Regions from separate parts of the Homo sapiens genome. Here region 2 is linked to region 1. The links are contacts of gene promoters, found by promoter capture Hi-C in blood cells and fetal thymus (Javierre and others, 2016). All regions are on one chromosome and are shown on one strand. Each heading gives the region's core, a stretch centred on a gene start or on the middle of the fragment in contact. The rest is flanking DNA. Distances are from core to core; before and after follow the strand shown. Region 1 holds the start of NEK9 (NIMA related kinase 9). Region 2 has its middle 42 kb from the start of JDP2-AS1.

Evidence for each region. Contacts are between HindIII fragments. The CHiCAGO score rates a contact against its expected background, and 5 or more counts as called.
Region 2: a contact is called between a fragment that was not itself captured here and the fragment with the promoter of NEK9 in region 1, in 1 of 17 cell types (monocytes). The highest score is 12.3, in monocytes.

The regions. Positions count from the first base shown.
Region 1 is chr14:75,125,572-75,128,432 of GRCh38, forward strand. It overlaps NEK9 (NIMA related kinase 9), which reads right to left and starts at 1,477. Exons shown (of 22, transcript NM_033116.6): 1 at 1,132-1,477. The coding sequence starts at 1,350. RefSeq lists enhancers at 1,341-1,390, 1,401-1,530. The HindIII fragment of the contact is 1,961 bases long and covers 614-2,574 here.
Region 2 is chr14:75,384,377-75,387,237 of GRCh38, forward strand. No RefSeq gene overlaps it. Among named protein-coding and RNA genes, the nearest start is that of JDP2-AS1, 42 kb to the right of the region's middle. The HindIII fragment of the contact is 3,002 bases long and covers 1-2,861 here.

The sequences.
Region 1 (2,861 bases), core at 227-2,726:
TTAGTTTCTCTAACTAAAATATAGAAATAACAATCCTTATCTCCTCTTTCTCATTTTGAGTGCAAAAAAGAAAACAGACTACTAAGAATAACTAACTCTAACATCATACATTAACGTGGCATCAGGATAAAAAAGAACACTTAAAAATATTCTCTTGCAACCACTTCTCTCCTTCTCCATCTTTCAGCCTTAAAAGTATGCTGGCTTGGAACACACACCAGAACTGCAGATGGATTTCCGACGGATGAATCACCTTCAGCAACCCCAGCAAGTTCTCATTAAATGTTTACCCTAAAGTAAGATTTTATGATCAAATCTAGTGTATCGTTAGTTTTTGGAAGTAGAATAATCACTGCAGGGTTTTACACTAGTATATATTAACTTGGGATTCCGTGATCCATGGATCTCTCCAAAGGATGTGCATATGTGCAAATGTGTTGATGGAGGGGGCAAGATTACTTTGCTTAGGTTATCAAAGGGGTCCTTGTGCCCCCCAAATTAAGAACTAATGGCTTAGAATATACCAACAAAGTATTTCCCATGCATAAACCCTGCAAGATAAACACTGATAAAGAACCAACACACAAAGATCTTCCCAATGAGCTTCAAGAAAAGCTTCCAACTGAGTGATCACTGCTGAACTTAAAGATAATGACAAAAATAACGGAGTTGCCACGGGTGTGGGGATTTTGAAGCTATGCCCCTCCTCCTCACCCCGACCTTGGAGAACTATATATACAGCATGAGAGGAAGGAAGTTTTGGCAATACCTCACATTCGTATACCACTTTAATTTACAGAACAGAGCCTTCGTTTGATTCTCAAGATAATCTTAAAAAAAAAAGAAAAAGATGATTTCAAGGTATTATCAGTAAGCCCATTTTACAGATGGGGAAACTAAAGCTCAAGAGACGGTTAGGTGACTTAGGACAATCAAAAATGACTAGTCAAACCAATGATCTAGCCAATTTCTAGTGCCGGTGAGTGGGAAGAGTGGTGAAGACCCTAAGACATATACCCCGTGGGCGCCTAAAGCACTAAGCTCACGACGCTGGGAAAGCGGGGCCGAGAAGGAGGGACTCGGGGCGACCCGACAGCGCCAGACAGGGCGGCCGGCGCCGAGGGCCGCTACCTCGGTGCGGCGGTACAGCGTGGCTTCCCCGAAGGCGCCGCGGCCCAGGACGCGGATGGGGATGTAGTGCAGTTCCTCCTGCTCCGCCGCGCCGCCGCCGGCTCGCGGCCCCTGACTGGCGCTAGGCCCCGGACTCGAGTCCCCGCAACCCCCGGACTCGCTCCCAAAGTCCGAGTTGATGGAATCGCAGTGTCGCTCGTACTCGCCCAGCACCGACATGGCGGCGGCCGCGGGCCTTGGGGACCAGCCTGCGTATGCCCGGAGGCCCTGGCCGCGCTGCGTCCCGCTCGCTTCAGATGCCGGCCCGCGGATCCGTCAGCCCAGCAACCCCGCGAAGCTCGATGGTGGCTCCTGCCCCCCGACCCGGAAACAGTTCTCTGTGTTTCCGGCCTGGCTGAGTTTCCTCCGCCTTTGCTTACCCTCTTGGCTAGTCTAGCGGCCAAGGCTTCCCGCTTTCGGGGAAGGCCTGCAAAGTGAGGCCTCGGGCTAGGGTTGGCGGGCGCGTGGTGGGAACCGCGTGGAACCGAAGGGCTCCCACGGGAACAAGGGCATCACTGACGGTACGGCCTCTCGGGTCTATTGACCCTTCTCTGCCTCCCCGGTCCGGACTCATACAACTTGGAGGCCCAGAGGTCGTCCAGTCTCATCTTGACGTCAGGTCTGTGACAAGAGGGTGATTGGGGAAGCATTCCCAGTGTACACCTTCTTCCCCATTCCAACGTTGGACAGCATTCTTTTTTAGAGAGATAGTATAGTAAAGATAATATGGCCGGGCAAGGTGGCTCACGCCTGTAATCTCAGCATGTTAGGAAGCCGAGGCGGGCGGATCACCTGAGGTCAGGCGTTTGAGACCAGCCTGACCAACTGGTGAAACCCCGTCTCTATAAAATACAAAAATTAGCCAGGCGTGGTGGCAGGCACCTGTAATCCCAGCTACTCCAGAGGCTGAGGCAGGTGAATCACTTGAACCCGGAAGGAGGAGGTTGCAGCGAGCCGAGATCGCGCACTACACTCCAGCCTGGATAACAGAGCGAGACTTTGTCTCAAAAAAAAAAAAAATAATAATAATATAGACAGCCTAAATGTCTGCCTCCGGTCATCTCGGTCCCTGGGCCGAGTTCTTTCTCCCAGGGCCATCCTAAGTCCCTCCCTCTTCTACACAACTCCAAAAATATTTTAAGTCAACTCTCCTGACACTTTCCTTCTCCCCCGTCTCTTTTTCCAGATTCAATTTATTCTATGTGTTTTTCCAGATATTTGACCATATGATATCATGAAACATTCTTTGAGCACTTGGTGCCACACACTGTTTGGGAACAGGAAATCTGCAATAATGTTCTCCCTACCGTCAAGTAGGAAAACAGCAATACGGTGAACAATAGGTGTTCCATCAGTTATGTGACCTTGGGCAATTATGTGACCTTGGGCAACTTCTCATCTCCAAGCTTGTTTTGTTGTGAGAATGTGGTCTACATCACAGACATAACAGCTAACATTTATTGAGTGTTATGTTCTGGGTACTATGCTAAAGGTTTTTTACGTATTATCTCACATTATTATGTATTATCCTATGTATTATGTATTATGTATTATCCTAACATTCCCATTTTACAGAAACAGAGGTACCTAAGTAACCTGCTTAATGTGACAGACCTAGTAAGAGGGAGCTGGGAAGTTGAACCCAGCAATCTGAAAAAGCAGGATGTGATGGGGCTAAGAGAAAGCCATGT
Region 2 (2,861 bases), core at 113-2,612, 260 kb after region 1:
ATTCAGATATGACACAGATTTTGGATTTATCATACAGGGGATTTAAAATAGCTAATATGTTAGGAACTCTACTGGAAAAAGCATACGACATGGTAGAGCAGATGGTAATGTAAGCAGAGAGCTGAAAACTCTAAGAAAGAATTAAAAGGAAAAGCTAGAAATCAGAAACACTGCAACAGAAATGAAGAATGCCTTTGATGGGCTCATTAGTAGAATGAATTGGCTAAGGGAAGAATCAGTGAGCTTAAAGATATGTCAATAGAAATTTCTCAAACTGAAATGTGAAGAGGAAAAAAAGAGAAACAAACAAAACAAAACAGAAACCCCAGAACTGTGGGATAACTTCAAGAGATATAACATACACATAATTGGAATGCCAGAAATTAAAGGAGATTACACAGCAAAAGAAATATTTGAAATAATAATGGTCAAGAACTGTCCAAATTAGTGACAGACACCAAACCTCAGATCCAGGGAGTTGAGAGAACATCAAGCAGGATAAATATCAAAAATATCTACACTTAGGAAAATTGTATTCAAATTTCAGAAAACCAAAGACAAAGAGAAAAATCCTAAAAGAACCTGGAGGGGAAAGCCCCTTTACCTATAGACAAACAAGGATAATACCTACAGAGAATCTTTTGTCAAAAACCATGCAAGCAAGAGGAGAGTGTAGTAAAATATTAAAATGTTGGAGAAAGAACCCCTACCAACCTAGAATTCTATATCCAGTGAAATTATCCTTCAAAAATAAAGAAGAAATAAAGACTTTTCAAACAAAAACAAGATATCATTGCCAGCAGATTTGCCCTGAAAGAAATTTTAAAAAAATAATCCAGGGAGAAGGTTAGTGATATAAGATCAGATCCACATAAAGAAGGAAAGAGCACTGGAGAAGAAATTAATGGAGGTAAAACAAAAGTTTATTTTTTTGCCGGGTGTGGTAGCTCACGCCTGTAATCCCAGCACTTTGGGAGGCTGAGGTGGGTGGATCACAAGGTCAGGAGTTCGAGACCAGCCTGACCAACGTGGTGAAACCCCATCTCTACTAAAAATACAAAAATTAGCCGGGTGTGGTGGCATGCACCTGTAATCCCAGCTACTCAGGAGGCTGAGGCAGGAGAATCGCTTGAACCCAGGAGGCAGAGGTTGCAGTGAGCTGAGATTGTGCCACTGTACTCCAGCCTGGGCGACAGAGTGAGATTCCATCTCAAAAAAAAAATTATTTTTATTCTTAATTGATCTAAAAGATAACTGTTTAAAGCAAAATAATAAGTTATTGGGTAAATTATAGAATATGAATAAGTGAAATGAATGACAGCAATGTTATAAGGGAGAAGAGGAGGAATTGGAAATTCTGTTATAAGGTACCTACAATACATGTGAATTAGTATAGTTTTATTTGAAGTGACTTAAATTAGTTGTAATTGTATATTGCAAATTCTAGGCTAACTACTAAAAGAAATTTTAAAGGAAATATAATTGATATGCTAACAGATAAAATGAAATCATATAAAATGCTCAATTAAATAATGCTCAGAGAAGGCAAGAAAAACAGGGAAGAAGAAAAAGAAGCAAAGAATAAGTACAATGAATAGAAAACAGTTACAAACATGATAGATTTAACCCAACTATATCAATAATCACTTTAAATGTGACTGGTCTAAGTATACAAATTAAAAGACAGAGATTATCAGAGTGGCTAAATAACACAACAAGACACAGCTATATTTTGCTTATAAGAAACCCATCTTAAATATCATGATTCAGATAAGTTAAAAGTAAATGAGTGGAGAAAGACACACCATGGTAACACTAAGAAAACAAAGCTGGAGTAGTTCCATTAACTTCAGACAAAGCTGACTTTGGAAAATGAAAATTCTCAGGACTAAACAGAGGAATCACACATTGATAAACGGGCCAATTGTCCAAAAGGACATAACAATCCATAATGTGTATGCACCTAACAACAGAGCATCAAAATGTGTGATGCAAAAATTTACAGAACTGGATGGGCGCAATGGTTCACGCTTGTAATCCCAGCACTTTGGGAGGCTGACAGGGATGGATCACCTGAGGTCAGGAGTTGGAGACTAGCCTGGCCAACATGGTGAAACCCCATCTCTACTAAAAATACACAAATTAGCGGGGGTTGTGGTGGGTGCCTGTAATCCCAGCTACTCAGGAGGCTGAGGCAGGAGAATCGCTTGAACCCAGGTGGTGGAGGTGGAAGTGAACTGAGAGCATGCCACTGCACTCCAGCCTGGGCAACAAATAAAACTCCATCTTAAAAAAAAAAATTGACAGAGCTGATGGGAGAGTTAGGCAAGTGCACTACTATAATTGGAGACTTCAACACCTCTCTTTCAGTCATTGATAAATCAAGCAGGGAGAAAATCAGTAAGGATATAGTTGACCTGATCAGAATTACCAATCAACTTGATTTCATTGACATTTATAGAATATTCAAAGCAGCAAGAGCAGAGTATACATTCTTCCCAAACTCACATGGAACATTCACCAAGACAGACCACATTCTGAGCCATAAAACACACCTTAACACACTTAAGAGAATAGAAATCATACAACGTATGTTCTCAGACCACAATGGAATTAAACTAAAAATCAGTAACAGAAAGGTGGCTGGAAAATCCAAAAATATTTAGAGATTTAACAACATACATTTAAAGAACACAAGGGCCAAAAAAGTCTCAAGAGAAATTTTAAAATATTTGAATTAAATGAAAATGAAAATACAACTTATCAATGTATGTGGGATGCAGTGAAAGTAGAAATTTGAGGGCAATCTATAGCATTGAATGCATATATTAGAAAAGAAGAAATATCTAAAATCAACAATC